Regions from separate parts of the Homo sapiens genome. Here regions 1, 2, 4, 5 and 6 are each linked to region 3. The links are contacts of gene promoters, found by promoter capture Hi-C in human tissues and cell types (Jung and others, 2019). All regions are on one chromosome and are shown on one strand. Each heading gives the region's core, a stretch centred on a gene start or on the middle of the fragment in contact. The rest is flanking DNA. Distances are from core to core; before and after follow the strand shown.

Region 1 (2,700 bases), core at 190-2,689, 320 kb after region 3:
TAAAAACACACAAAAATTATCTGGGCATGGTGGCACGTGCCTGTAGTCCCAGCTACTCGGGAGGCTGAGGCAGGGGAATTGCTTGAACCTGGGAGGCGGAGGTTGCAGTGAGCCAAGATCGTGCCACTGCACTCCAGCCTGGGTGACAGAGTGAGACTCTGTCTCAAAAAAAAAAAAAAAAAGAAACAGTAGACAAAACTTCCCAAATTTAATGAATAACATTAATCAATAAACCAAAGACACTTAATAAACTCTTAAGTAGGATAAGAAAAGAGATCCACACCTAAACATATCATTATCTGTTGAAAACTAAAAACAAAGAGAACCTTAAAGCAAGAGAAACAACCTACCATGTAGATTAACAGTTGATTTCTCATTAGAAACCATGGAGGCCAGAATAGGCATATTCGAAGTGATAAAAGAAAAAGTCTGTCAACCAATAATTCTACAAACAACAAGACTATATGCCAAAAAAGAAGAAGACATTGAGACTTTTCAAAACAGAGACAGAGAATTTGTTACTAGCAGACCTAACCTACAAGAAATGCTAATGGGATTACTTCAAGCTGAAGTGAAAGGACACTCAACAGCAACCTATATCTATTTGAATAAAGAGCACTGCTAAAGGTAAATAAAGAGCACTGCTAAAAGTAAATATATATGAAATTATAAATATTGTATATAAAAGACAGCTGAGGAAACCACACTATAAATCTTAATTTCAATAGCATACAAACACTTGCTTCCATAAAGCTCCATTCCCTCCCCCCATTTGTGATATATTATCATACAAATTACATCTTTATACCTTATATGCCCATGAACACAGATTTAACATTTTACCATGAAAACAAAACATACCAAAACTTATGGGACGCAGCTAAAGCAGTGAGTAGAGGGACATGCATAACTTTAAATGCCTATACTATAAGATCTCAAATTAACAACCTAATCTACCACCTTAAGAAACTGGAAAGAGAAAAGTAAACTAAACTTAAAACAAGTAGAAGCAACAAAGCAGCAATAAATGAAATAGAAAATCAATATAAAAATCAACAAAACCAAAAGTTAGTGCTTTGGAAAGATTAACAAAATTGACAAGCCTTTGGCTAGACTGGCTTAGAAAAAAGAGATACAACTCAAATTAATAAAAATTAGTAACAAAACAGGGACATACTGACCTTACAGCAATAAAAAGGGTTATACGGAAATAATTGTATGCAAATAAATTAATTAACATTGATAAAATTGACAAATTCCTAGAACACAAACTGCTGGGACTAAGAGAAATAGAAACTTTGAAAAAAAAACTATAGTAATTAAAGAGATTGAGATTGAATAGTAATCAAAAACCTTCCCACAAGGAAATGCCCAGGCCCAGATGCCTTCACCAAATGTTAATTCTACCAAATGTTTAAAGGAAATTAACATCAAACTTTCACAAACTCTTCCAAATAAAAGAGGAAGAGGGAACATTTTTCCATTAATTATATGAGGCCAATATTACCATGATATCAAAACCTGACAAAGACATCCCAAGAAAACTACAGACCAATATCCCTTATGAACATAGATGCAAAAACCCTCAACCAAATACTAGCAAACCACATATAACAATATATAAAAACGATAATACACCATCACCAAGTGAAACTGATCCCAGGAATGGAGGGTTGGGTCAACATGTGAAAATCAATAAATATAACACACAATATTAATAGAATAAAGAACAAAAAAATCATCTCAATAGATGCAGAAAAAACATTAGACAATATTCAATATCCATTCATAGTAAAAACAGTCAATAAACTTGGAGTATACAGGAACTTTCTTAACATAATATAAAGCATGTATGAAAACCCCACAGCTAACATACTTAATGATAAAAGACTGAAAGCTTTCTAAGATTAGGAACAAGACAAGAATTTCTACTCATCACTTCTTCAACATTGTTCTGAACATTCTAGTCAGAGAAATTATTTAAGAAAGAGAAATAGAGGCATTCTAATCTGGATGGATCAGAAAGGAAGAAATAAAATTATTTCTATTCACAGATGGTATTGTCTTATGTAAGTAACTTGCCAACAAATACCAAAGAAAATGATTGAAATAAATAACTTCAGCAAAGTTGAAGAATACAAGATTAATATACAAAAATCAACTGTATTTCTGTGTAGTAATAGTGAGGAATCCAAAAATGAAAATAAGAAATTTCATTTACAATACCATTAAAGAACAAGATACTTAAATTTAACAAAAGAATTGCAATACTTGCACACAAAAAACTGTAAAGCAGTGTTGAAAGACATTAAAGACCTAAGTAAATGGACAGATAACCCATCTATATGGGTTGGATTACTGAATAGTGTCAGGATGGCAATATTCCCCAAAGTGACCTACAGATGCAATGTAATCTTTATCAAATCCCAGCTGTCTTTCTTTTTATGTAGAAATTGACAAGTTGTTTGTAAATTCCATATGAAAATGCAAGGGACCCAGAATAGCCAAAACCATCTTGAAAAAGAATAGAGTTTTGAAAGTTCCTAATTTCAAAATGTATTAAAAAGTTACAGTAATCAAGACAGTGTGTTAGTTGCATAAGGATAGACTTATACATTAATGTAATAGAATTGGGAGTCCATAAATAAACTTAACATTTATGGTAATTGATTTTTCATATGGATGTCAATATGATTCAAT
Region 2 (2,761 bases), core at 66-2,565, 360 kb after region 3:
AAGGAAGCCAGTCTGAGTCCCAAAGCTGAAGAACCTGGAGTCCAATGTTCAAGTACAGGAAGCATCCAGCACAGGAGAAAGATGTAGGCTGGGAGGCTAAGCCAGTCTAGCCTTTTCACATTTTTCTGCCTGCTTTATATTTTGGCCATGGAGGTAGCTGATTTGATGGTACCCACCCAAGTTAAGGGTGGGTGTACCTTTCCCAGTCCACTGACTCAAATGTTAATCTCCTTTGGCAACACCCTCGAAGACACACCCAGGATCAATACTTTGCATCCTTCAATCCAATCAAGTTGACACTCATTATTAACCATCACAGTAAGCATTTTTTACAATATGTTTAGTATGTGCTAGGCACCATGCTGAGTACTTCACATGCATTGACTCAGTAATCTACAAAAAGTATTGTTAGCTAGAACTTACAGTTGAGGAATTTGAGGCATAGATAATTTGATAATTTAGGAAAGTTTTCCAAAGTTACAAAGGCAGTAAGTGGCAGAATCAGTATTCCAACTCCTGCAACTTCAGTTTATAGTCCTTATGTTTAACCTCTGCACGACACTGTTTCTTTTCTAGTCGATCAAATATGTTCATTTTTAACATTTTTTTACTAATTATTACCTCTATGCAGATATATGTACAAATTCCCTCTATTCCTGTCTTTCCTCACCCACCTCCCAGACTTACGCTTCTCAGCCAAGCTGCATCTTTCTCCACATCACTCAAGATTCACTTTTCATTTTTTTCAAAGATGGTGGATTAGAGGCTTTTAGCATTTTTCAGCCACCTGGAAACAGAAAAATAGTGCATCAAGATCAACTCTGTGAGCTTTCATTCAAGAAAAAAAAAATAGTAATCCGCTGGAATCATGAAGGACATCCTAGATCTTAGGGAGAAGAATATGGACAAACAACCTCCATGGCAGTGTCTAGCTGATAAAAAGAGTGTGTTGAGGCACAACCATCCTCACCCCACACCAAGGCAGATCTTCAGGCATTCAGGGCATCTGTTTATCCAGTTAACAGCCTGAGGCACCCCTCTCATCCTGTGCAGAGAATTTGGTGTAGTGTAGGAGCCCCCTACACTTCATGCCCAGGAAAATCTCCACACATCTGACGTACCCATTCTCCTGGATTTTGAGTTTAGGCTACCTTCACTTCCCATGCAGAGCAATTGGGGCCAAGGAGTTTTCCTAGCTTTATGCCTAGGCACATCTCTGGGTGCTTGGTGGCCACCCGCTGGATTCTCCTTCAGTACTAGTGCTTGTGACTTCCATCGGGGACCTATAGATGGTTCTGTCTGGTTCAGCCCCATCCATCTTGCCCCCACCCCTGGGCTGAGCAGGGTGCTCAGACCACTGTGCACTCCAGGATCAGCCCATTGCCTGAGGTAACAGAGAACTTCTTCCAATAAAGAAGGATCAAGTATGTACCCAACCCTATTGGCTGCAGCCAACTCTTACCTATAAGAATAATCTATGACCTCTAGGTCAAACTGCATAGCCCAATATAAAACTTGCTAATAGAGGTTTATAGGGCTATAGAAACAAAGCCAAAAGACCGTATCCAGAATTCTCTCCAGTTACACCCCCTAGGGAAGTGGGGAAAAAGAAAGAAAAAAATATTATATGGGAAAAAAGAAAGAAAAAACATCTTGTCCATATGAAAATAATTACAAAAATTAGAAGTGCCAGCATCTCCAGATGACAAGAAATCAGTGTAAGAATTCCAGCATCACAAAAAATCTGAATGTTGTGATACCACCAAAGGATCACACTAACTAGCCAATGATAATCCATAACCAAAATAGAAACTCAGAAATGACAGATAAAGAATTCAAAGCATGGATTGCAAGGAAGCACAACAAGATCCAAGACGAGGTTGAAAATCAACACAAAGAAACTTCTAAAGCAATCCAGAAAATGAAAAAAGGGATAAACATCTTAAAAAGAAATTAGTCAGAGCTTCTGGAATTGAAAAACTTACTTAAGGAATTTCAAAATACAACTGAAAGCTTTATCAATAAACTGGACCAAGCAGAATAAATAATTTCAAAGTTTAAGATTGATCTTTTAAACTAACACAGACAGAAATTTAAAAATGAGCAAAATCTTCAAGTAATATAAAATTATGTAAAGTAGCCAAATGTATGAATTATTGACATTCCTGAGAGACAAGGAGAAAAAGTAAACAACATGGAAACATATTTGAAGGAATAGTTCTAGAAAATATCCGTATTTTTGCCAGAGAGATAAACATCCAGATACAAGAAATCCAGAGAACACTTGCTAGATACTTTACAAAATGAGCATAACAAAGGCATATGGTCACCAGACTGTCTGAGGTCAATGGTAAAAAAAAAAATCTTAAAGACAGCTAGAAAAAAATGGTCAGATGACTTTTAAAGGGAAACTCTATTAGGCTAACACTGGACTTCTCAGCAGAAACCTTATAAGCTGAGAGAGATTGGGGGCCTATTTTTGGCATTCTTAAAGTAATTCCAACCATGAATTTTATATTCCATCAAACTAAGCTTTGTCAGCAAAAAGAAATAAAATCTTTTCTAGACAAGTAAATGCTAAGGAAATTAATTATTTTTAAACCAATAAACCAGCCTTACGAGTGATTTTTTTTTTTTTTTTTCTGAGACGGAGTCTTGCTCTGTCACCCAGGGTGGAGTGCAGTGGGACGATCCCAGCTAACTGCAATCTCCACCTCCTGAGTTCAAGCGATTCTCCTGCCTCAGCCTCCTGAGTAGCTGG
Region 3 (2,833 bases), core at 80-2,579:
CCGGAGGCGCAGCGCGGCTGATTCATCCCAGGCCAGGCGAGTGGAAAAGTACCAGCCGCGCGCGAGGGGCGGGGGCGCGCCGAGGGGCGGAAAAGTACAGACGGCGGAGCCGCGGGGAGAACAAAGATGATGCCACCGCTGTGTTGCGGCCGTCGAGGCCCCCTACTCCGGCAGATTTCAGTATTTCACCCTCTCTATTGTCCCTCGTCGGAGTGGAGGGGGCGAGGGGGGGTTCTGTTTTGCTTTTTCCCAGTCGCTCCAAACTTGCACAGGCACTCAGGGCACACATCCAGCCCCGACCCTGGCTCGTGTGCATGCAACCTAGGCGCACGGCTTTCCGTTTCTAGCATTTGGAACAGCAATGCTGCGTAATCTGTCCTTTACTGCCCGGAGTCCCCACACGGAGAAATGCCTCTGCCGCAGACAGCCTTCCCCAGGAGGCGGAAAGGGCCGACACTACTCCTCTCTCGAGGGGGGCGAACGCCCGGGCCCCGGGAGCTGGGGGTTTGTTTACACACGCGCGCCAGTGCCCTCAAGCACACCCGTCCACAGGCAGCTGGCCCGCGAGTGCTACGCCCGCCCAGCCCCTCCTATGTCCGGAAAGAAAACTGATGCAATATCGATCGTCGATTGTCAAATGTTCCCAACTCGTCTTCCCCAATCTTGGCCTCTCCTGTAATACATGCCCAAGCCCACCTCCGCCGCCCCCAGATTCCTGGCTCCCTGGACTTAATTTTTTTTTTTTATTAAATGCAAATCAGTCACAAGACTTGCCGCAGCAGAGCCGCTGGCCGGGCTAGCTCCCCTCCCCCTAATGGGAAGATGCGGCTCCGCACCGTGCAGGCACGCGGCCCCCGCCCAGCGCCCGCTCTCCTACCCACGTCGCGGGCGCGACACCCGCGCGGCGGGCCAGGGTGGAAGGCTGGCCAGCCCAACCGACAACGCCCGCCTCGAAAGGAAACGGACCCCGCGGCCGCCTTCCCGCGCGGCCCCTCCCGGAAGCCCCTCCCCCACTCTCGCCCGGGCCCCGCGCCCTTCCCACAGACGCCCCCCCGCACGCGTTACCTCGGTGGTCTCTATTCTCACGCAGACGTCTTCAGTGGGTTTCTCTCAGTCAAATACAAATCATAAAAAACAAACAAAAAATTTCCCCAAATCCAACAACAGGCAGGAAAAATAATTTTAATAAAAAAGGAAAAGACAAATTGCCGCCCCAATCCTCCGGCGTCCGCCGTGTCAAGGGAAAGGCGCGAGCGTGCGGTAACGCGTGGTCGGGCTGCTGCTAGCAGTACTGGAAAGGCGTTCTAAGGCGGCGGCGTCGCGCGGCTGTGGAGCAGCCCTGCGAGCGGCGGGTTATAGCGGCACCCCGGGGACGCGTCAGTGGGCGGGACCGCGGCCGCCCGGGCGCCTTCTCTTTGTGTATCAACACCACCTGGGCCCCGCCTCCGACCCGCCCAGACCTAGGCCCCGCCTCCCTGCCCCTCCCTCTGCGGCCCGCGCCCGCGGCCCAGCCCCGCCCGCAGGCGCCCCCAAGACTCTCCCGCAAAGCCCAAGCCCACTCTCTCCAGCTTTCTAGATAGTCTGGAAAGACCCCCAGATGCTTCCCCTGCCTATCCTTTTCAGCCAGGGTTGGTGCTCAACACATGCGGTTGTCTTTGAGGAGCCATCTCCTTAAAATTTTCTCCTGTCCGAGTCACCAGCAGTCCTTGCTTTCGGGGGACACATCAAGGCTTTTGGGGGACACCACCCTCCCACCAAACACTTTCTTGATTGTTATTTTTGTGATTTACAGTGAAGTTTTGTCTCACAAACTTGGGCCAAGGCAGCAAGGTTGTCCTGATGGTTTGTTGTTCTTTCTTTTCCACCTAGACCTGCTTTCACTCTTCAAAACTAGCCGGAGGTCGGCGAGCAGCTCCTTTTCGGGATGTGCTTTTTGTACGGCCATGGAAACTGGACTAGCGGAAAGGCTACCTTTTGGCCAGCAAGCCAGGCCCCTTAGAAAGAGGCCCCAGTGGGGAGCCCGGCGCTCCTAAGGCCGTTTGGGAGTCCCCAGTTTTCCACTCGCTGACACGTTGCTTCTCTTATCCCACCACCGCCGCCCCGGGCAAAGGCACTGCCTTGTCTGAATGCGGGTCTGAGGCGCTTTCTGCGGAGCCTGGTCCTTTCCCTTCAATGGTGATGTGTGTGGTCTTGCTGAGCCAGGCAACTAGGGGGACCCTTCGCTGTGGAAAAATTGGTGCTGCGGGAAAGGCAAGACTCACTCCCTTGCAGGAAACAAAGACCCCTTAGGAGAGAGAAATGTTCATGGAATGAATGAATAAACAAGTTTGACCTACTGCTCTCTTCCTTTTGGGGACTTGGGAGAAATTGGGCAGGGCATAGAGGAAAGGGCTGGGTGTGATCGCAGTTTTTGCTTTCAATGTTTTACTGAGGAAATCCGTACAACTGCCTATTTCCGCCGCACGTGAGGCTTCGGGTGCCCTCGCCTGCACCAGTGTTTATGATTGACAAGCGAGGTCCCGATTTCCCCCATCACACTCCTGTGTTCCCTACCCCAAACCTTCTACTCTGTTCAGGCCAGTCTTCCCTACCGCAAACCTTCTACTCTGTTCAGGCCAGTCTTAAATAATAGCCATTCTTGCTTTGGTGTCCAATCTCCTCTCATCCCCTTAAATGCCGCTGTCATGCAAGGCTTAGTCTTCGAGCCACAGGAAAGCGCCCCGCATGCCTTAATCCCTCCGTACTCAGCCCTCTTTTTGCAGGTACTATTTTCTAAAACAATATGGTGACGGACTTTTAAAAATCCGTGCTGTCATGCACTCAAAATCGTTCC
Region 4 (2,921 bases), core at 123-2,622, 340 kb after region 3:
ACCTTGCTAAGAGCACACTGGCAGACCTGAGGCTGAGGTATAGACAGTATGTCTAAAAATCACTGAGAGTGTGACCTCTTAAAAGATGTCAGCATGGAGGAGCAATGCCAATAGCCAGGTGGAACAATGACGATTCATGGCAGTGAATACCAGTGTAGACAGATGGCTAAGGACTACACGCCTCCCTTGATGCCATGTTGGCACATGAACCCCAAACATAGATGCTACCTTATAGTGAAGGAAGGGCAGGGGACAATCCCCAATGACTGAACCTATGACGACTACTTATAAGAGAACATCTGGTATTTGACTTATAAATGAGAACACATGGTATTTGACTTTCTGTTTATGAGTTGTCTCACTTAAGATAGCAGCCTCCAATTCCATCCATATTGCTGCAAAAGACATGAATTGATTCTTTTTATGGCTGAATAGTACTGCATTTGTATATGCAATACTATTGCATATTTTATTAATCTAATCATCTGTTGATGAACACTTAGGTTGATTTTATATCTTTACTATTTTTCACAGAATTAGAAAAAAATCATAAAATTAATATGGAACCAATAAAGAGCCTGAATAGCCAAAGCAATCCTAAGCAAAAAGAACAAGCTGGAGGCATCATATTACCCAACTTCAAATTACACTACAACACTATAGTAACCAAAACAGAATGGTACTAGTACAAAAATAGATACATAGATCAAGGGAACGGAACAGAGAATCTGAAATAAAGCCACATATCTACAGCCAACTGACCTTTGACAAGGTCAACAAAAACATACACTGGGGAAAGGATACCCTTTTCAATAAACTGTGCTGGGAAAATTAGATTGCCATATACAGAAGAATAAAACTGAACCCCTTTCTCTCACCATATACAAAAGACAATGCAAGATGAATTAAACACTTAGATGTAAGACTTGGAACTAGGAAAATAGTAGAAGAAAACCTAGGGAGAACTTTTCTGGACATTGGTATAGACAAAGAATTCATGACTAAGAACTCAAAAGCACAAGCGTCAAAACCAAAGATAGACAAATGGGACTTAATTAAACTAAAGGGTTCTGCACAGCAAAAGAAATAATCAATAGACTGAACAGACAACATGGAGAATGAAAGAAAATATTTGCAAACTATGCAACCAATAGGGGACTAATATTCAGAATTTATAAGGAAGTCAGACAACTCAACAACAACAAATACCAAATAACCCTGTTAAAAAGTGGGCAAAAAAACATGAGCAGACATTTTTTTGAAAGAAGTCACAAAAAACATATGAAAAAATGCTCAACATCACTAATCATCAGAGAAATGCAAATTAAAACCACAATGAGATATCATCTTACACCAGTTAGAATGGCTATTATGAAAAATACAAATAAAAAAAAGCAGATGTTGGCAAAGATGCAGAGAAAAGGAATGCTTACAGACTGTTGGCGGGAATGTAAATTAGTACAACCTCTGTGGAAAACAGCGTGGATATTTTTCAAAGAATTTAAAATAGAACTACTATTTGATTCAGCGATCTCACTACTGGGTATCTACCCAAAGAAAAATAAGTAAGTTTATTTTTAAACAAATATCTGCATTTGTATGTTTATTGCAGTATCCTTCCTATCCTTTATATTATCTTTGTCTAGTATTTAATTCTATACATATAGCAATTCCCACAAGGCATTTTTATAAATGCTTTGAAGAAATAATTTTAACTTAAATTTCCTCCCTCTAATACCCTTCATTCTTCTCTTCACCTCCATGTTTCCATCTTGGATCATTTTTTTTGAAATCAATTTTTTTGAAAAAATATCTTTGTGAGTTTTTTATTTCTGTAAAGGTTTACTGGCATGAGTTCTGTCCTTTTTTTGTCTAAAAACTATCTTTATTTCGTTTTCTTTTTTTAAAAAATATTTTTTCTACCTGGGCACAGTGGTGCACACCTGTAATCCCAGCAATGTGGGAGGCTGAAGCAGGAGGATCACTTGAGCCTAGGAGTTCGAGAGCAGCCAGGGAACATGGTGAGATGCTATCCCAAAAACCTTTTTTTGTTGTTGTTGACTTAAAAATATATTTTTTATTTTATTTATTTGTTTTTTATTTATTTTTGTTTGGTTTGGTTTGGTTTGGTTTTGAGATGGAGTCTCTCTTCGTCACCCAGGCTGGAGTGCAGTGGTGCGATCTCGGCTCACTGCAAGCTCTGCCTCCCAGGTTCACACCATTCTCCTGCCTCAGCCTCCAGAGTAGCTGGGACTACAGGTGCCCACCACCACGCCCAGCAAATTTTTTGTATTTTTAGTAGAGATGGGGTTTCACCGTGTTAACCAGGATGGTCTCGATCTCCTGACCTAGTGATCCGCCTGCCTCGGCCTCCCAAAGTGCTGGGATTACAGGCGTGAGCCACCATGCCTGGCCCTATTTCATTTATTTTATTTTGATTCAAGGGATGCATGTGCAGGTTTGTTACATGGATATGTTGTGTGATGCTGACATTTGGGCTTCTAAAGATCCTGCTGCCCAATTAGTGAACATAGTACCTGGTAGGTAGTTTTTCAACCCTTGCCCCCACTCCTGCCATCTCACTTTTTGGAGTCCCAGTATTTATTGTTCCCGGCTTTGTGATCATGTATACCAAATGTTTAGCTCTCACTTATAAGTGAGAACATGCAGTATTTGGTTTCCTGTTTCTGCATTAATTCACTTAAGATAATGGCCTCCAGCTGCATCCATGTTGCTTCAAAGGACATGATTTTGCTCTTTTTTATTGTTGTGTAGTATTCTATGGTGTATATGTGCCACATTTTCTTTATCCAACCCACCATTCACTTGCACCTGGGTACCATGTCTTTGCTATTGTGAATAGAGCTGTGATAAACATATGAGAGCAGGTGTCTTTTTGTTAGAATGATTTATTCTCCTTT
Region 5 (2,739 bases), core at 44-2,543, 500 kb after region 3:
AAATCATTGGTTTTATCTTCTATATAGTGAATTTCTAAAGGGATTTAATGTTTGATATTGAATTGTATACTAAAATAAGGTTGTTTTAGACATAAAAGAGTAACAGCAACAATAACAAAGAAGTTGTGACAAAGAGGATTGTTGTACTGAGATTTGATGGATAACTTTGATTCATTTGTTTTATGTGTATCTTGCCTACATCTGTCCATTCATCTCACCATTTCTATCAACTATCTACCTGGTGCAGTTTGATATGTTATAAGCTGTGAGAAGTGAGACAAGGAAAGAACTTTTTGCTGAATTTTTTAGAACATCTGTGATGTGTTGTACATATTAGGCAAATAATAAATACTTACTGAATTAAATTAAATTTAACCAGGATCAAGTTCAGATGGCTTACGGTTGAGATACATGTTGCTATGGCAGCAGGAAGAAAATGATGGAAAAGAAGAAAACAAAAAGCAAGAAAAAGTGAGAAATCAAAGGACAACATTTTCAAGGATGAAGAGTGCTACATCTATTCATTATACATTGTAGATATAGATAATAACAATAGTAATAATGTGGTCAAATTTTAATAAATAAAAAATTGAGTTAAGCTTAATCATACATAGTGCTTTTATTGAAAACTAACACCTCAACAATCACATCTCTTCATGTCACACAGTCATCCATGTGAATGGAACAAATATCAGTAGCCTGAAGGACAATACAATTATTGCAAAAATAATTTGCTTTTTCAGTTAAGGTCCTCACTTATACATGGGTTGGTTCTTTTTTAGCTTTGTGCTGATTTCCTGTAGTCTTCCATTGCATTTAGGCACTAACTCATTTGTCTATGTTTCAGAATGCCAGCGTAAAGGTGAAATAAAGGTAAAACAACAACAATAACAAAAAGGACAGGAAAGAACAACAACAAATAAATGGTGTGGCAATTCTTAGCTGTTCAGTGTCTGACTCCCCTTTCAGTGTTTGGGGAATTGCTCACCTTATGAGTCTCAGTGGGAGACTCAGGCTCTGCTCATTATTAAAGTTGAATACATCAGGAACTTGCTTTCCCCACCTTGTTTGCAGTTAAGCCCAACACACCCCACCGTGGAGCCACAGAGATATGGAGGATGCACTCTCTGGCAACAGTGGAGGATGCACTCTCTGGCAGTAGTAGTGGGAACGCCAGTGGTGTGAGCACTGCATGGCTTCCCGAAACAAGCCCTCTGGTGTGACGAGACAGTTTCTACATTCTGTAACTCTATACTGGATTCTCCACCCAAAGCCACAGCTTGTCTGTCAAGGGCCTTCATATGAAAAAGGAAAAGGTGCCCCTGGCAGATGCAGGCTCTGTCAGCACATGGTGGCTCTGCCTCTGTCCTTCCTGTGGGCCCCTCAGCTGCCCATGCTTCTTTTCTTAAATAGATTTTCTGCCAAAATCAGCTAACATTTGCGTTACTGCTTACAACTAACAACCTTACTGATACACATAATAAGGCTACCACACCTGCCCAGCCATATCCATAAACCTTTCCATTATGCTATGTGCCTTTTAACATACAGTATAATTCTTTTATATGGATACCGCCTTATTATCTGGAATTATCACAGCACCCAGTGGATGCCCCAAAACAACACAACTAGCAAAGATTCAATATTCAGTTAGAGTAAATAATTCATTTACTTATACTTTAAAACATTTATATGCAATTTTAAATGACACAACTTCAAGTATTTAAATGAGATAGTTTAAAAGTTAAATTCCTTCACTATGTGTGTGATGGCTACACTAAAACCCCAGACTTCACTACAGCACAATATATGTATGTAATAAATCTGCACTTGTACCCTCTAAATCTATAAAAGATTTTTGTATTTTAAGGAAATTTTTAAAATAAAATAAAAGTTAAGTATCTTTTGCCTTGGGGAAGGAGGAAAGAATAATAGTTATCAGCTAGTATATGGGGAACTATTTAAAGTACATGTAACAAAAAATGGTTCATGGGAAGAGTAAACTGGACCACCTGGAGACCCTACTCTCCTGTCCATTGAGAGACTACAATCCTCATGCTTGCTGTGCATTTTCTCCAATACCATCATGGCCACTGTAGCTGCCACTACTAGTGAAGACACACCAGGATCCCACTGTAATCACTGGGCTTATTTCAAAGACACAGCTGCAAATTTCACCACCCCAAATCAACAGAATATGCATTCTTTGCAGTGCGACATGGCACTTATTCTAAAATCAACCACATAATTGGAAGTAAAACACTCCTCAGCAAATGCAAAAGAACGAAAATCATAACAATCTCTCAAAACATAGGGCAATCAAATTAGAACTCAGAATTAAGAAACTCACTCAAAACCACACAATTACATGGAAACTGAACAACCTGCTTCTGAATGACTACTGGGTAAATAATGAAATTAAGGCAGAAATAATGAAGTTCTTTTAAACCAATGAGAACAAAGAGACAATGTACCAGAATCTCTGGGACACAGCTAAAGCAGTGCTAAAAGGGAAATTTATAGGAATGAATGCCCACATCAGAAAGGTAGAGAGATCTCAAATCAATACTCTAACACCACAATTAAAAGAGCTAGAGAGGCAAGGGCAAACTAATCCAAAAGCTAGCAGAAGACAAGAAATTACTAAGATCAGAGCAGAATTGAAGGAGATAGAGACATGAAAAACCCTCCAAAAAAATCAATGAATCCAGGAGCTGGTTTTTTGAAAAAATTAACAAA
Region 6 (2,700 bases), core at 70-2,569, 270 kb before region 3:
TGGATGTGGTGAAAAGGGAACACTTCTACACTGCTGGTGAAAATGTGAACTAGTAGAACCACAATGGAAAACACTATGGAGATTCCTTAAAGAACTAAAGTAGAACTACCATTAAATCCAGCAATCCCATGACTAGGTATCTACCCAGAGGAAAATAAGTCCTTATATGAAAAAAGACACTTGCACATGCAAGTTTATAGAAGCACAAATCTCAATTGCCAAAATATGGAACCAGCCTAAATCCCCATCTACCAATGAGTGGATAAAGAAAATGCGATATATATATATAACCATGAAATACTACTCAGCCATAAAAAGGAACAAAATAATAGCATTTGCAGCAACCTGGATGGAGTTGGAGACCATTATTCTAAGCAAAGTAACTCAGAAATGGAAAACCAAATATCCTATGTTCTCATTTATAAATGGGAGCTAAGCTATGAGGATGAAAAGGCATAAGAATGATATAATGGACTTTGGGGACTCGGGGAAGTGTGGGAGTGGGGTTAGGTATAAAAGACTACACATTGGGTACAGTGTACACTGCTTGGGTGACAGGTGCTCCAAGTCTCAGAAATTACCATTAAAACTTTTCATGTAACTAAAGGCCACCTCTTACCCCAAAACTATTGAAAACCTGAGTAGTGTATGTATACATCCTAGACAACTCAGGAAATCTCATTAGCCCTGCAAGATATGCATAAACAAATTAAAGCTATGTCTGATCCCACATTGTCACCAGATCAATGGTTTGTGCCCTGGTTTGGGTCAGAACCATCCTGGTGGGAAAAGTTACTTGTGACCTTGATCATAATTGCGGGAATAGGCATACTTCTTTGCTGCAGATTCTACTGCTGTTGTACATTCTGCATGGAAATGCAAGGTAAACTCTCCCAGAGACTTGCAAATCTCCAACAGTTTTCATCTGTCAGCCCAGGTATGTGAGAATATTTCCAGTTCCAGTAGATCAGTTCCATGACAATGTCCTTTAACTACATCCTCATTCAGCAGGAAGTAGGCAGAATGAACACATCGCCCATGTTCCACAGAAATGGAATGGAATTTGGCAGTGGGGAGTTGTAATGAGTACCCTATTTTTAAATATTTTTTTGTTCCTTTCTGTATTAGTTGGGGTTTTCTACAGGGACAGAATTGATAGGATATGTGTATATATAAAAGAAAGTTTATTAGGGAGAATTGACTCCCATGATTACAAGGCAAAGTCCCACAATAGGGTATCTGCAAGCTGGTGAAAGACAGAAACTGGCAGTGACTCAGTCCAACTCCAAAAGCTTCAGCACGAGGAAAACTGACAGCGCAGCCTTCAGTCTGAAGGCCTGGGAGCCCCACAAGTCTTTTGCTGCAAGTTCCAGAGTTCAAAGACTGAAGAACATGGAGTGTGAAGTCCGAGGGTGGGAGGAGAGGAAGCCAAGTGTCCAGCAGGAGAAGAGAGAGAGTGGAAAGACTCAGCAGCAAAGTAATTATCCCTCTTCATCTGCCTGCTTTGTTCCAGCTGCGCTGGCAGCCAATTGGATGGTGCCCACCCACACTGAGGGTGGGTCTTTCTCTTCCAGTCCACTGACTCATGTCAGTCTCCCTTGGCAACACCCTTACAGACACACCCATGAACAACACTTTACCAGCCATTTAGGCATCCCTAATCCAGTCAAGTTGACACCTAATATTAACCATCACACTTTTTCTTTTTCCTCCTTATTTACTTTATGTTTAATTTCTTACAAATGAAATATGACCTTTGCTCTCTTTCTTTCCACCAGGTACAATGTCCTCCTTATCTAATTATACACTTGCTTAGAAGTTCCAGGGACTGAATCTTAAAACAATCCAAGCACCTATAGAATTTTTCCCCACCAGGAGAATACCTCAAGGTTGCAGTTAATTTACAACCTGATTACGCCAGGATGCCCCAGCCCATTCACCAGAGGGGGCAATGACTCAGGACAAGTCATTGGTGCAAGTCACGTAGACCTGCAACTTCTTGCCCCTCCTGCATTCTCCCTCTACTAAGCTTTCCTTTTTAAGCCGTTGCATTCTGTCCAAAATTTGAAATGGTTTCTCTAAGGCATGAAGCTGTTATGGGAGGGGGACAGGGACGTGCTGGGTAGAGAAAAGCGGGTCCTGGGCTAGGGCTTCACCCTCAGGCCTGTGCCCACGGACCTAGGTGAGGACAGGCACTCCTGCCTTTGGCCCAAATGTTGCATTTTCCAAGACCACCCTGGCCTGCCATGCCCACATCCTGTGCCTATAAAAACCCCAAGACCCTAGCAGGAACACACAAGCGGCTGGACGTGGAGAGAAACACATCAGCGGAAGAACACACAAGCGGCTGGATGTCCAGAGGATGTCGAGAACACCAGCATGCCAGCAGGCCATTCTCCCGGTGGAACGTGGAGTTTAGCTGAGGGGGTTGGAAGACGCCTGGGCCGCTGAGTGGCCCAACTTCAGGGGAAAACCTTCCCACTCCATCCACTTCTGGCTTCCCCCATTTGCTGAGTGCTACCTCCATTCAATAAAACCTGCACTCATTCTCCAAGCCCAGGTGTGACCCGATTCTTCTGGTAGACCAAGGCAAGAACCCGAGATACAGAAAGCCCTCTGTCCCTGCGACAAGGTAGAGGGTCTAATTGAGCTGGTTAACACAAGCTGCCTATAGATGGCAAAAATAAAAGAGCACGAGGT

What was found. Contacts are between HindIII fragments. The study calls those that stand out against the background at their distance.
Region 1: a contact is called between a fragment that was not itself captured here and the fragment with the promoter of SLC38A2 in region 3, in 1 of the 25 tissues and cell types used here (IMR-90 fibroblasts).
Region 2: a fragment that was not itself captured here is called in contact with the fragment with the promoter of SLC38A2 in region 3 in 1 of the 25 tissues and cell types used here (mesenchymal stem cells).
Region 4: a fragment that was not itself captured here is called in contact with the fragment with the promoter of SLC38A2 in region 3 in 1 of the 25 tissues and cell types used here (lymphoblastoid cells).
Region 5: a fragment that was not itself captured here is called in contact with the fragment with the promoter of SLC38A2 in region 3 in 2 of the 25 tissues and cell types used here (IMR-90 fibroblasts and mesenchymal stem cells).
Region 6: a fragment that was not itself captured here is called in contact with the fragment with the promoter of SLC38A2 in region 3 in 1 of the 25 tissues and cell types used here (hippocampus).

The regions. Positions count from the first base shown.
Region 1 is chr12:46,689,472-46,692,171 of GRCh38, forward strand. No RefSeq gene overlaps it. Among named protein-coding and RNA genes, the nearest start is that of SLC38A4, 140 kb to the right of the region's middle. The HindIII fragment of the contact is 3,931 bases long and covers 1-2,700 here.
Region 2 is chr12:46,733,930-46,736,690 of GRCh38, forward strand. No RefSeq gene overlaps it. Among named protein-coding and RNA genes, the nearest start is that of SLC38A4, 91 kb to the right of the region's middle. The HindIII fragment of the contact is 3,722 bases long and covers 1-2,761 here.
Region 3 is chr12:46,371,444-46,374,276 of GRCh38, forward strand. It overlaps SLC38A2 (solute carrier family 38 member 2), which reads right to left and starts at 1,330. Exons shown (of 16, transcript NM_018976.5): 1 at 1,066-1,330. It overlaps SLC38A2-AS1 (SLC38A2 antisense RNA 1), which reads left to right and starts at 1,340. Exons shown (of 2, transcript NR_187299.1): 1 at 1,340-1,419; 2 at 1,870-2,335. RefSeq lists enhancers at 260-409, 490-819, 509-1,212, 1,070-1,149, 1,830-1,889 and silencers at 840-1,039, 1,240-1,579. The HindIII fragment of the contact is 23,415 bases long and covers 1-2,833 here.
Region 4 is chr12:46,710,573-46,713,493 of GRCh38, forward strand. No RefSeq gene overlaps it. Among named protein-coding and RNA genes, the nearest start is that of SLC38A4, 110 kb to the right of the region's middle. The HindIII fragment of the contact is 9,894 bases long and covers 1-2,921 here.
Region 5 is chr12:46,876,196-46,878,934 of GRCh38, forward strand. No RefSeq gene overlaps it. Among named protein-coding and RNA genes, the nearest start is that of SLC38A4, 52 kb to the left of the region's middle. The HindIII fragment of the contact is 5,424 bases long and covers 1-2,739 here.
Region 6 is chr12:46,099,737-46,102,436 of GRCh38, forward strand. No RefSeq gene overlaps it. Among named protein-coding and RNA genes, the nearest start is that of SCAF11, 110 kb to the left of the region's middle. The HindIII fragment of the contact is 3,710 bases long and covers 1-2,700 here.